5 separate regions of the Homo sapiens genome follow, and all the other regions are linked to region 5. Evidence: promoter capture Hi-C in 16 types of primary human blood cells and fetal thymus (Javierre and others, 2016). All regions are on one chromosome and are shown on one strand. The core of a region is centred on a gene start or on the middle of the fragment in contact, and the rest is flanking DNA. Distances in the headings are between cores, read along the strand shown.

What was found. The method cuts DNA at HindIII sites, captures the fragments that hold promoters and counts their contacts. A CHiCAGO score of 5 or more calls a contact.
Region 1: a contact is called between a fragment that was not itself captured here and the fragment with the promoter of CIROZ in region 5, in 1 of 17 cell types (endothelial precursors). The highest score is 5.1, in endothelial precursors.
Region 2: a contact is called between a fragment that was not itself captured here and the fragment with the promoter of CIROZ in region 5, in 1 of 17 cell types (endothelial precursors). The highest score is 5.5, in endothelial precursors.
Region 3: a fragment that was not itself captured here is called in contact with the fragment with the promoter of CIROZ in region 5 in 1 of 17 cell types (M2 macrophages); the score reaches 5.1 in M2 macrophages.
Region 4: a fragment that was not itself captured here is called in contact with the fragment with the promoter of CIROZ in region 5 in 5 of 17 cell types (endothelial precursors, M1 macrophages, megakaryocytes and 2 more); the score reaches 9.1 in endothelial precursors.

Annotation. Positions count from the first base shown.
Region 1 is chr1:10,488,335-10,491,034 of GRCh38, reverse strand. The region is part of intron 1 of PEX14 (peroxisomal biogenesis factor 14); the gene reads right to left. Among named protein-coding and RNA genes, the nearest start is that of PEX14, 15 kb to the right of the region's middle. The HindIII fragment of the contact is 807 bases long and covers 860-1,666 here.
Region 2 is chr1:10,536,653-10,539,352 of GRCh38, reverse strand. All of the region lies in intron 3 of PEX14 (peroxisomal biogenesis factor 14), which reads right to left. Among named protein-coding and RNA genes, the nearest start is that of PEX14, 63 kb to the right of the region's middle. The HindIII fragment of the contact is 1,146 bases long and covers 730-1,875 here.
Region 3 is chr1:10,586,602-10,589,301 of GRCh38, reverse strand. All of the region lies in intron 3 of PEX14 (peroxisomal biogenesis factor 14), which reads right to left. Among named protein-coding and RNA genes, the nearest start is that of PEX14, 110 kb to the right of the region's middle. The HindIII fragment of the contact is 857 bases long and covers 938-1,794 here.
Region 4 is chr1:10,520,590-10,523,289 of GRCh38, reverse strand. All of the region lies in intron 2 of PEX14 (peroxisomal biogenesis factor 14), which reads right to left. Among named protein-coding and RNA genes, the nearest start is that of PEX14, 47 kb to the right of the region's middle. The HindIII fragment of the contact is 2,132 bases long and covers 224-2,355 here.
Region 5 is chr1:10,980,748-10,983,447 of GRCh38, reverse strand. It overlaps CIROZ (ciliated left-right organizer protein containing ZP-N domains), which reads left to right and starts at 1,372. Exons shown (of 13, transcript NM_001170754.2): 1 at 1,372-1,436. The coding sequence starts at 1,411. The HindIII fragment of the contact is 7,392 bases long and covers 1-2,700 here.

The DNA of each region.
Region 1 (2,700 bases), core at 14-2,513, 490 kb after region 5:
TTCACAGAGTAGTCCATGATTAAAAAAAAAAAAAAAACAAGGCCGGGCATGGTGGTTCACACCAGCACTTTGGGAGGCCGATGTGGGAGGATCGCTTGGGCCCAGGAGTTCGAGACCAGCCTGAGCAACATGGTAAAACCCTGTCTCTACTAAAAAATACAAAAATTTGCCACGCATGGTGGCACATGCCTGTAAGTCCCAACTACCCAGGAGGTTGAAGTGGGAGGATCAACTGAGCCCAGGAGGTTGAGGCTGTGGTGAGCTGTGATCACATCACTGCACTCCAGCCTGGGTAACAGAGTAAGACTGTCTCAGAAAAAAAAAAAAAAAAAAAGGCTTAGAAACCACCCACAGGCATCTATTGTAACGATGTAAGAAAAGGACCTAAGGCAATCCATGCCCAGGATCCTTAGAGGCCTGAATGGGGAGAGCAGGAAGAGAAGAAAGCAAAAGCAGAAAACTGCTTTAAAAAAACAAGTCAGGCAAAGACTACGGCGGCAGAGAGAGAAATGCTTTTCTTTTGGTAGAGACAAAGGTGCTCTCACTCCTGCTGCCAAGGCGCTGACCTTCCCCAACTGGAAGGCGTTCCCAGATCCTGACCTGCTGTCCAACAAAGAACAACCTCACAAGCAGCTCACAGATTTGAGCAACTGGCGAAAGCTCCAGGTCTAGGAGAACCCATCCTGCATCTGCCCAGTAACTGCGACTTCAGATAGGAGAACCCATCCTGCATCTGCCCGGTGACTGTGACTCCAGATAGGTCCTAAGCCAGTCTGTGTAGTTCTCTGCTGGGAAGAATAAGATTCGATCCCACCAATATCCTTTGAGATGCAGTGGCATGACAGAAAGTACACAAGCTTTGGCATTAAGAACTCAGTGATTTGGGGGCACGCTGCTCAACCTCTCTGAGCCTCAGTTTCCTCATCTATGGGAATAACGGGAATAATACCACCACCTCACATTTGGGATTAGAGGAGATGATAAGTTATTTCATGTCACTCCTCTGCTCAAAGTCAACCAATGCACTTCCACTTCGGGTCATGATGGAGTGATAGGGAACAGATTTGCCCTCCCACTGTAAACAACTAGAAAACTAAGCCAAATAAATAAAACCACTGTGTGTACACATTGGACAGCAGGCAGTGCAGGACTACGATCCCTGAAAGCAGAGAAACAAATTACTTGGGCCCTAAAATCACTCTGGCTTCCTGCCAGGAGACACATTTCAGGCCCTGGAGAGAGACGGGGATCCCCAGCAGAGCACGCCACCCACTTAAGTTGAAGAGACAGAGATCAGAGTTCAGGGAGGCCAAGGCAGCTGAAAGCTGCAGGACAGACTTCAGAAAGAAAGAGCTATGCAGAAAAAGTGGTCCAGAAATCTGTCTGGAGGTTCCCTCAGGTCTCTGCTGAATACTAAAATTTGTGCATGCATAGGGTGAAACTCCACAGTGAAGAAGAAGCTAGGAGCTGACATTTCTTAGAACTCTCAGGGGAATCATGAGTCCCAAGCAGCCAGACTGGAGTGTCCTCACAGGGCATTCAGGAGAGACCAGAGGTCAAATGATCCCTAGATTAAAGATTATCCAGATCCACTCTAACAAAGCTAAAAAACAGGACTCAAAATGATAACAGTAAACCATAAAAAACTGCACAGAAGAAAAAAGCTTTAAGCACTCTTTAAAGACCACAAAATCCATAACCTCAACAATACTGAACTCACAATATCCAGCATCCAATAAAAAATTTCAACACATGGCCAGGCACGGTAGCTCACGCCTGTAATCCCAGCACTTTGGGAGGCTGAGGCGGGCGGATCACCTGAGGTCACGAGTTCGAGACTAGCCTGACCAACATGGAGAAACCCCGTCTCTACTAAGAATACAAAAATTAGCCGGGTGTGGTGGTGCATGCCTGTAATCCCAGCTACTTGGGAGGCTGAGGTAGGAGAATCACTTGAACCCAGGAGGCGGGGGTTGCGGTGAGCCGAGATCGCGCCATTGCACTCCAGCCTAGGCAACAAGAGCAAAACTCAGTCTCAAAAACATAAAATTTAATTTAAAAATTTCAACATATGTCAAGAAGCAGGAAAATGTAACCAATAACAATAAGAAAAACCAGACGATATAACTAGTAGACAAGAACAGTAAGACAGGTGTTACAACTATACTCAAGTATTTAAATGAAAACATGTCACAGTAAGAAGAGAAATGTAAGGTATAAAAAGAAAATAGAGGCCGAGCACAGTGGCTCACGCCTGTAATCCCAGCACTTTGGGAGGCCGAGGCGGATGGATCACGAGGTCAGGAGATCGAGACCATCCTGGCTAACACGGTGAAACCCCTTCTCTACTAAAAATACAAAAAAAAAATTAGCCAGGCATGGTGGCGGGCACCTGTAGTCCCAGCTACTCAGGAGGCTGAGGCAGGAGAATGGGGTGAACCCAGGAGGCAGAGCTTGCAGTGAACCGAGGTCACGCCACTGCACTCCAGCCAGGGCGACAGAGTGACATTCCGTCTCAAAAAAAAAGAAAATAGAATTTCTAGACATGAAAAGTATAATATGTAAAATAAAAATTTCAGGCCAGGTGCGGTGGCTCACGCCTGTAATCCCAGCATTTTGGGAGGCCAAGGCGGGTGGATCGCCTGAGGTCAGGAGTTTGAGACCAGCCTGGCCAGTACAGTGAAACCGCATCTCCACTAA
Region 2 (2,700 bases), core at 53-2,552, 440 kb after region 5:
AATAACTTCACGTTTCTCATTAATGGCTCCATGTTCAGATTTTAAAGCATCCGAAAGAGATCTCAAAACAAAAAACAAAAAAAAAGTAACAGGAAAGACCTTTGCAAACCAATGCTCTTCCATCCCTATACCACTCATTCCCTACTCACCCTCACCCAGCACCCCCACCAGAAGTCACAGAGCACAACACTTAACCAGTCGGTAACACGGACAGGATGCAGCCCCTGCTCCCAGCTGCGGTTTCACAATGAAACAAACTCAGCTGATGCGCCTCATTTTCCACTGAACTGACATGCACTACAGGGACCTCAATTTCTATATTAAATATTAAATAATATTAAAAGAAAAACAAAATTGGATTTGCCTTTTCAGGAAAGAGATGTTTATTAAAAAAAAGAAAGTCAAGATTATAATTCAAGTCAGTGCTCCACTGCAATTCCCTGAAGTGACATTGCTAGGAAAAGCCAAGACTCCAGGAGCTGAGAGCCCTCCCAGAGCCCATGCTCCAAGCCCAGCACTGCAAGGCTTCTGCAGGGAGTCCAAGAGCACGGGTGCCAGAACCCAGGCCCCTCCTGGTCCAGACGGCCAGCGAGCCAATTTGCTTTCCTGCCACAACTACTGTTAGGGACCCAGTAGATGTTCACCCTCATCCCCATCGGAGACGGTGCCAGGCCGTGCTGAGCACGGAAACCTGACCCTGGAACAGCCCGAAATTTGAAAAGTGAAGCTTAAATCTGCGAAGGGGCTTTTCTTCCCCAGACACCGATCAAACCTTGGAATTCTCTGCCCAGAAAAGGTCCTGCCAGAACCTACTCCATTGGGATTCAACTCGGAAATGGATAATTACTGACTGAAGCAGCATTTTAGAGGATAATGGAGATGGGTGATTAACCTCAGAGATTCCAGGTTTAAGTACGGGATAAACTCACATGGTTCTCTTTAGAGGACGAAGGGCAGGATAGCATCTCAAGGTGCCAGATGCCTAAAATTCTAAAAACTCTAACCCAAATTAGGGGTCAAGAAGGAATTATGTCCACTGTACCAATAAACAGTCACCTTCCAGTCTTTGCTCATGTGCCACCCTCTTAGAGACACTCTGACATTCATGTTGTTTAAGATCACAGTCCAGCCCACACCAACTCTGGCATTCCTCACCCCGGCTCCCTGCTTCATTCATCAGTATCCATGGCGCTCGGCATCTGACATCCGACCTATTTCATTTTCCCATTTGTTAATCGTCTGCCTTCCCTCCACTAGAATTTAAGCTCTGCGAGGGCAGGGATTTTGTCTGTTCGGTTCTCTGCTAAATTCCTGATGGGAGTCCAGGGACAGGGCATAGGGTGCACAATGACTCTTGGATGAATTGATCAGTTGGATTTTTTTTGCTAAAGGAGCAACGAATCATAATTGCACAAAAAGTTTTCTCTCTACAGTAATTATTAGCCAAGTAACTCAAAAGAAGTATTATTTGGTCCAGAGTTTCTCTCTCTCTTTTTTTTTTCACTCCCTCTCCCAGTCAGGGATTTATTAAAATTAAACAGATTAGATGGAGCTCCTGATACTAAAACTGCTCAGCAAAGCCTGCGGTGGGGAAGTGCCGAGCAAACACCAGAGACATTTGTCTCTAAATTGCTCTAAATACCTTCTGCAAATGAAATTCTAACCCAGCTGCGTTTGAGAGAAAATGAGGACTAACTGGTCATTGTCGGTGGAAGAGAAGATCAGGCAGTTATAATATTGCACAATATACTGGAGCTAAGGATCTCTCGGCAACCATAGATTTTGTCTCAGGTTACCCCGGGTAATCAGCTCAGCTTTTAGGCTCAGCTTTCCCCAGCTTCAATGCTTTGATGAGAGAGCTGAAATCCCTAAGCTTTTATGATTAATTACTCCCCATAGGTACACATATTTCAAGGAAAAACTCTTTTATGGCATGATGCTTGCGGAGTGGCGAGGCCAGCCAACACACTCCAAATTTTAATAATCTCCTAATGATGGCGGGGGGGGGGGGTGCTGGCACAATGCAGCCAGTGAGCAGCCGTGCAGTGCTCCTTACCAACTCTGTCGCAGGGACCCAGCCTTGGGGCTGCCGCGAAGCAGCTGCCTGTGGTGAAATGTTTGGGCTTCTTCTGCCCAAACCCTGTTAGTGCAGCCCCGGGACATGATCGCATGAAGGGACCAATGGTTCATGCTGCATCCCTTCAGCGGGACATCACAGAGCAGACCTAGGAAATATCACCCACCTATTCCAGCCAAAAATGACTGAAAGCTCAAAACTCAGAATTTCAAGGCTGGCATTCCAGCTCCTTAAGGAAAAAGAGTTTTGCTTTGGGAGGAAGAAAGCTTACTTTTGCCCATCATGGTATATAAGGATGTGTAAATGACTTCCTAGATTTCTAGAAAATTACATGTATAAAAAATTGAAAAGTCAGGTTTCTTTGTAGTTTTCATTTTACAAAAAAAGAAAAATACCCTGAAGTCCAACAGAACCAGAATAGATTGTCTCTTCAGACAATATTGAATTTGTCAGGGTCCACTTTATCCCTGTTTACAGAAATACCATAAAACCACTAATTTACCGCTTCAATCTGTAAATCGGACTGACCCCAAGCTTGAGTTTAACCTGACCTTGTTAGTCATCTCGTTTCCCTCGCCCTTCATTTCTTTCTCCCTCATTCTCTATTGAAGCAGCTGAACTCC
Region 3 (2,700 bases), core at 117-2,616, 390 kb after region 5:
CTCATCACCTCATTCCCATATACCCTTGCAATCTGAGCACCATGTCACAGGCTATTTTCCCCCACACAGCTTGGCACTCACATGCAATGCAGACTATGTCGTCTGGTATTAAACCAAAGATCTGTTTCAGTGTGACGGAAAATGTGGGCTCTACTGAACTTACTGAGAGAACATCTTTCTAAGGGACTTTTAACAATTATTTTTAAAATTAATGTTTAAAAAATATTTGCACTGTATAAAATTCTAAAGATATAAAAGGGTATACAGTAGCCCACCCTTATCTGTGGGGGGATTCATTCCAAGACACTCAGCGAATGCCTGAAACCACAGATAATACAAAATTCTGTACATTCTATGCACAAATTTTTTTTCCTCTTTCACAATTTCATGGATAGATTTGTTCTTACAATAGATTTTAGCAACCTCAGCATATGATTTTTTTTCTTTCCTTATTAAGTCAAGAGCATTCTCTGTTTCACTTAAAGGAAGCACTTTACGGCTTCTCTTTGACATATCTGAATTGCCAGCATCACTACTCTTGCACGTGGGGTCACTATTAAGTAACATAGAGCTTACTTGAACACAAGCACTTGGATACCATGACCATCGATCTGATCACCATGAGGGCTACTAAGTGACTGCCAGGTGGAGGCGTCCACAGCATGGATAAGCTGGACAAAGGGATGATCCACATCTCAGGTAGGACAGCAGGAGGTTTCATCAAGCTACTCAGAATGGCACACAATTTAAAACTTATGAATCATTTATTTCTGGAATTTTCCATTTAAACATTTTTGGACTTTGGTTGGCCTCGGGTACCTGAAAGCATAAGAGGCAGAACTATGGATAAAGGGGGTCCACTTTATCGTGAAAAATCAGTCTCCTTCCCACTCCTGCCACCCTGTTACATCCTCCAGGGGCAACTATTGCTAAAGCTTCTTATATAAAAAGCATACATGTAGCTGGGCACAGTGGTGGACACCTATAATCCCAGCTGCTTGGGAGGATGAGGCAAGAGGATTGCTTGAGTCCAGGATTTCAAATCTAGGCAACATAGTGAGACTCCATGTCTTTTTTTTTTTGAGACGGAGTCTCGCTCTGTCACCCAGGCTGGAGCGCTGTGGTGCAATCTCGGCTCACTGCAACCTTAGCCTCCTGGGTTCAAGCAATTCTCTACCTCAGCCTCCCGAGTAGCTGGGATTACAGGCACCACCACGCCCAGCTAATTTTTTCGTATTTTTAGTAGAGATGGGGTTTCACTATCTTGGCCAGGCTGGTCTTGAACTCCTGACCTCGTGATCTACTCGCTCGGCCTCCCAAAGTGCTAGGATTGCAGGCATGAGCCACTGTGCCTGGCCAAGACTCCATCTCTTTTTTTTTTAAAAAAAAAAAAAAAAAAAAAAAAAGCACATGTGTGTATACATATGTGTGTCCGTATATTTTTATACAATGATAGCACGCTATACATGCTGTTCTATACCTTGCTATTTTTAATTAGGTTATCTTGGAGGATACTCCATATTAGTATCTACAGAGCTCTCTCATTCTATTTAATGGCTATATGGTTGGTATGGATGTACTATAATTTATTTAACATCCCCTACTGAACCTTTACTGCTACAAACAAAGCCATAATAAAGGACCTTGAATATACCACTTGTACATGTGTAAACTATATCCCTAGGAATAGACTCAGATGTGTGCAGTTTTAATTTTAATAAGACCTGTCAAACCTTCTTCCAGGTTGTTTCCACTCACATTCCCTCAACCTTGCCTACATGATGCTATTAAGCTTTTTATCTTTGCCATTCTGAAAGGTTAAAAAATTGTCTCGTTATTTTATTTATTTATTTATTTGAGACAGAATCTCACTCTGTCACTCAGGCTGGTGCCATCTCGGCTCACTGTAACCTCCGCCTCCCAGGTTCAAGCAATTCTCGTGCCTCAGCCTACCGAGAAGCTGGGATTACAGGAGTGTGCCACCAGCCCTGCTAATTTTTGTATTTTTGTAGATACAGGGTTTCACTATGTTGGCCAGGCTGGTCTCAAACTCCTGGCTTCACGTGATCCATCTGCCTCGGCCTCCCAAAGTGCTGGGATTACAGGCGTGAGCCACCACACACAGCCTCATTATAATTTTAAGGAAACTTTTGTTGGCATTGAATATATACAGAAAAGCATGCACATTTTTAAGTGTACAGCTTAATGAATTTTCCCACGGTGAACACACTTATGTAACTACCATCCAGATCAAAAAATAGAGTAACAGCCTCTAGCAACATCCCTTGTCTCCTCCCAGTCACCACCTAACTTCTAATACCACAGATTCAGTTTGCTTGCTTTTGAATTTTATATATGTGGGATAATACGGAAAGCATTCACACCTGTAATCCCAGCACTTTGGGAGGCCGAGGCGGTGGATCATGAGGTCAGAAGATTGAGACCATCCTGGCTAACATGGTGAAACCCCGTCTCTACTAAAAATACAAAAAAAATTAGCTGGGCATGGTGGTGGGCACCTGTAGTCCCAGCTACTCGGGAGGCTGAGGCAGGAGAATGGCGTGAACCCAGGAGGTGGAGCTTGCAGTGAGCAGAGATCACGCCACTGCACTCCAGCCTGGGCAACAGAGCGAGACTCCGTCTCAAAAAAAAAAAAAAAAAAAAAAAAAAAAAGGTAAACGGCTCCTTTTGTTCAACATT
Region 4 (2,700 bases), core at 40-2,539, 460 kb after region 5:
TACGCTGCGAAGCTTTACTCACGCTACTTACTATTTATTTTATATACAAGCTTAGTTATCTGGTATCCAAATCATAGAAGATAAAAGCTGCAAATAAGAACAGAGAGGAAGGAGCCAGCTAGTACAGAAACACCAAACAAAGATGTGACAGCAAAAAAAAGCCCAACAGCAAATGCCAAGAGAGAAACATCCATGAAAAGCAAACAAAAAAATTCAAAAAGCTTATTAGTCTGGGGTCATTTAGAATCGGTGGAGTCATTTCAAGTAGGGGCAAATATACAACACATCTATATTTCAACAGGTTTTGAAAACACAGCTATGCTTATAACACCATATAAACACGTTCATCTAAAATGACAATACTGAGTCATCACGATTAAATTATATTCCAGATATTCAGCTTAATAAAGCAAGAAAGTATGTAATCCATTTTACATAATTCCCAGCCAAAAGTTTTAAAGTGTTTTGTTTGTTCTGCTTTCAAATGGCTCCTGATGACCATCCAGAAAACGTAACTATCCAGAATGCCTCATTCTAGGAGGTGCCAGAGATGGTGGTTTTCCTGAATTGAACAAGAACAGCTTTGATTCATGTTAGATTAAGAAGCAGGAAGCCAGAGATTAAATAATGAATAGCTACTGAGCATTCACAGGTCCTCACGGTACACCAGCCACTTGTAAAGTCAAAATAGAAGCAGGAAAGATGCTGTTTGTGCTGTAGCAATCTAAGATGAGGAAACAAGCCAAAAGAGATCTTGAGCCATCTGGTCCCACCCATGACCTAGGGACTCCCCTCTCCAACAACCCTGACAAATGATCAGGAAGCCTCCTCTTGAATGCTCATAATGAGCAGGGAAACTACTCCCTTAAGAGACTGTCAGCTCATTTTCAGGAGTGCCTCTTTAAACTGAGTTGAAATCTACTTTCCTGAACCTCCTAACCATTGGTCCTCGTTCTCTGTCTGGCAACAATATTAATTGATCCACTTTTTGAAACAGTGCTGGGTGAGGAATCAGGATAGACTGCTGTCACTGGCTATCTTTTCTATAAAAGCATTTATTTCCCTTACTCTGCTTAGTAACTAAAGGTGAACACTGGCCTCACTGTGTAACAGTTTCATAAATTCTGCTCTTTCGTTTGGTAAGAGCAGCCTTGCCCTTTCTGGGAGAGCCAAGGCTACACCTGTAATGTCAGAATGCATTAGCAATAATAAAGGCCACGGTAATGCAAGAGCCGACTTCATGAACACGTCATTCCAGAATGGCTAAATTCAATCAAATATGGCAGCGCTTCCTACAACACTACGATCACTGGGGCCAGTGTGTGACGTGGGCCCACTTACTGGAAGCTGTTGGAAAGAGAAAGTGAGCACTCTGCTTTAAGACTAATAGACAGGGTTTTTACCAGCCCACAAGTGGTTCAGCATCCTTCTTTCCCAGGAATTACCTAGAAATTCATTTAACATCTAAAGACTACAAATGAAACTTCAGAAGGTTAAAAGTATATAATGAGAAGGGGCCAAGGGGATGGTATTCACTCAACCTCACCTTAAATATGTATGATTCTTAGGGGGGAAAAAAGTCAACACCCATAAGGTGGTAATCAAAAAGCAAAGCCAAAGATGAGCCAGGTTTAATTCTAACTCAGTCACCAACTTCTTCAGTAACTTTCAGAGCTACTTACCTTTCCCGTTCCTGCTTCCTCATCTGTAAACTGGAACTAATACTGCTTAGAGACTCACAAAGTGGTATAAGGAATAATTAGTTAGCATTTATGTAACACTTTTCATCTTCAAAGTAGGATTACAGACTATAAAGTAGAGTAGATGTGGCTTGAAAAATCTTTTTAAAACCTAAAATAAAGCATGAAAGCAAATTCAGAGAAGTAAACTCAGCTGACATCATCTTAGAGCAGCCAGATAGCTCTGCCTCCACGGGCACCCCCATCTTCCCTAGTCAGTATTTGCATGTGGAGACAAAGGTATAAGGATATTTTATTAGGGAAAATGGGAGGAGATAGAAAGAAGAGAAAAAGGAGAAAGAGAAGGTTAGAGAAAAGGAATGGGAGAAAGTATAAAAGGGAGAAAAGATAAGAGAGAAAAAGAAAAGAAAAGGAGAGAATAGAAAACAGCAAGAAATAAAGGAAGAAAAGACAAATCTTATCCACTAGAAGAAAAACAAAAACAGGAAGAGAGGAAGAAAAAGAGAAATGGAAAAGAAAACTTCTTTAAGGGGATAGTTTTCCTGTTTCCAAAGAAAAAAGAAGATTAAAAAGTAAAAGGAAAGTTCAAAATGTTTAAAAAAAAAAAAAAAGACAACGGCAAAGAGCAGAGGATAGAAAAAGAGAAGATAAAGCTTTCAAGAGTATGTCTGGAAACCAGAAAGCTGGAAGAGAAATCATTAGCAAGTCCATAGTGCGTCTACAGTGATACTGTGTGGATCAATTCATTTAACGCTGCCCTGTACATTTACAGAAAAGTACCTCTGATATAATAAAGGCTCATAAACATGCAGAAATTGGGTTAGACCCGTTTCGAATTCCTGCCAAACAATGGTTCAGAAAAATGAAGCTCTATTTTAATTAGCTGGATTCACGAGTGATTTGATAACAGCAGATGCTGTCTGGATGCTTTCAGCTTGATGGGCTCCACATACATGAACTTAGAGTGGTTTTGATGCAATTAGGTGTTTCTTTCTGCTCC
Region 5 (2,700 bases), core at 123-2,622:
CTCCCTGTGTCCTCACACCGTCATTCCTCCGTATGTGTCCGTGCCCTAATCTCCTCTTCCTTTTTTTTTTTTTTTTTGAGACGGAGTCTTATTGTATCGCCCAGGCTGGAGTGCAATGGCACGATCTCAGCTGTCTGCAATCTCTGCCTTCCAGGTTCAAGCGATTCTCCTGCCTCAGCCTCCAGAGTAGCTGGGATTACAGGTGCCCACCACCAAGCCCGGCTATTTTTTGTATTTTTGGTAGAGACAGGGTTTCACCATGTTGGCCAGGCTGGTCTCAAACTCCTGACCTGATGATCCACCCACCTCAGCCTCCCAAAGTGCTAGGATTACAGGCGTGAGTCACTGCGCCTGGTCTTTTTTTTTTTTTTTTTTTTTTTTTTTTTTTTTTTTTTTTTTTTTAGACGGAGTTTTGCTCTTGTCACCCAGGCTGCAGTACAATGGTACGATCTTGGCTCACTGCAACCTCCATCTCCCGGGTTCAAGCAATTCTCCTGCCTTAACTTCCCAAGTAGCTGGGATTACAGGCGTGCACCCCCACACCTGGCTAGTTTTGTATTTTTAGTAGAGATAAGGTTTCACCATGTTGGCCAGGCTGGTCTCGAAGTCCTGACATCAGGTGATCAGCCTGCCTCGCCCTCCCAAATCACTGGGATTATGGGCATGAGTGACTGTGCCCGGCCCCTTTTTTTTTTTTTTTTAGACAGGGTCTTGTTCTGTTGCCCAGGCTGGAGTGCAGTAGCACAATCAGGGCTCACTGCAGCCTCAACCTCCTGGGCTCAAGCAATCCTCTCACCTCAGCCTCCTGAGTAGCTAGGACCACAGGTGTGTGCCACCATGCCCAGCTAGTTTTTAAATTTTTTGTAGAGACAGGGTCTTGCCATGTTCCCCTGGCTTGTTTCGAACTCCTGACCTCAAACAATCTGCCCATCTCTGCATCCCAAAATGCTGGGGTTACAGGCATGAGCCACCATGCCTGGCCCCTCAGCTCCTTTTGAACTCTGCCAGGAGGGGCCTGGAGCAGGGTTCTGGGAAGCCCCATCAAGACAGCGTGACTGTTCCTCCGGTGAAGCTCAGTTTCTTAGCTTCTTTCCTTCCTTGGGCACAGAGACAGGCTTCTCCCGGGAGCGGAGAATGAGGGCCTGCACTCCAGCCTCAGTGGATCAATTCATCTTCAGCCTTCTGATCCGCAATCTTATTTTGAGCTCCCACGGCTGAAGCAATTCATCTCACCCATGCAGAGGGATGGGGAGAAGCTGAGAGTGTTGACACCCACCTGTGTTTTCTGGCACCTGAGTGACCCGAGACCTGCACTGGAGGGGAAGGGGAGGAGCCAACCTTTCGTTTAGTTGCTTGGAACTGCTTCAGATTAAATTCTCCCAGGGCAGGAGAGAGCTGCTGGGCCTGAGGATGTGGGGGTCCCCAGCACTTGCCTGGTAAGTGTCCCTTATTCAGGAATTGGGAGAAGCCAGTGGCATGCTTAGTGTGCCCACACTCCTTGAAGAAGCCAAATATCTTCCATCAGAATCAGAAGCCTTGCATCTAAGAGGGAAGGGGGCCAAATGGGTGAGGGGCCCAGATGCATGGATGCCTTGGGAAGGGCTGACTTTCTCAGGTGAGGTCCGGCCACAGTCTCTCCCACCTTTCTCATGCTCCTGTCATCCCTTGTTCTGGAATTCCAGTCCTCCCATCTTGGGAAGGATTTCCAGAAGATTGGGAGAAAACAGAACACGTCTTCCTTGTCCTAGAGGGTCCTTAAAACAAAACAAATTAGGGGTCAAGTTGACCAAGAGATGCTTGATTTCAAGGAGTTTTCAAATGATAGGAGTTGTGGTCGCTAGCTATTCGATTGTAAGGATTAGGAGAAAATTTCATTTTCCTTCCTTCCCTCCCTTCCTTCCTTCCCTCCCTGCCTTCCTTCCTTTCTCCTTCCTTCCTTCCCTTTCCTTTCTTTTCTCTTTCTCTCTCTCTCTCCCTCTCTGTCTCTCCTTCTTCCTGAGATAGAGTCTTGCTCTGTTGCCCAGGCTGGAGTGCAGTGGCAAGATCATAGTTCACTGTCATCTCTTAACTCCTGGGCTCAAGTGATCATCCCACTTTAGCCTCCTGAGTAGCTGGGACCATAGGCATGTGCCACCACACTTTGGTAATTTTTTAATTTTTTTGTAGAGACAGGGTCTTACTGTGTTGCCCAGGCTGGTCTTAAACTCCTGGGTTCAAGCCATCCTCCTGTCTCGGCCTCCCAAAGTATTGGGATTACGGGCATGACTCACTGCACTTGGCCAAAATCTCATTTTCCTTGGCAACAGAATTGCTACCTCTTTTCCCCATCTGAGATGCATTTTTAAGAGATACTTTAAAAAGCTCCTGAGAGTGGGAAGTGAAGCCTCCCAGGCCAGCTGGAATGTCACAATAGCTGGCTTGTGGCCTTTGGGCCGTGGACTGCAGGGCTTTTGTTGGGCGTTTTGTGAGGTTGAAGTCTGTAGACAATGAAGGCAGTGGAGAAGCTGAGTGGGGCTTTGTGGGGCTGGGCGAGCAAGGGGGAGGTCCGGGCCCTGTCCTGGGGACCCATTGCCTTCTCCTGGATGCCCCATGAGGGGGCTCAGCTTTGGGGGATGGAGCATCATGTCTCCCCCCAGACTGGGATGGGGCAGTTCTGGGTCTGAGAAGTGAGGGGGAAAAACCCAAACCCACATCTTTCTC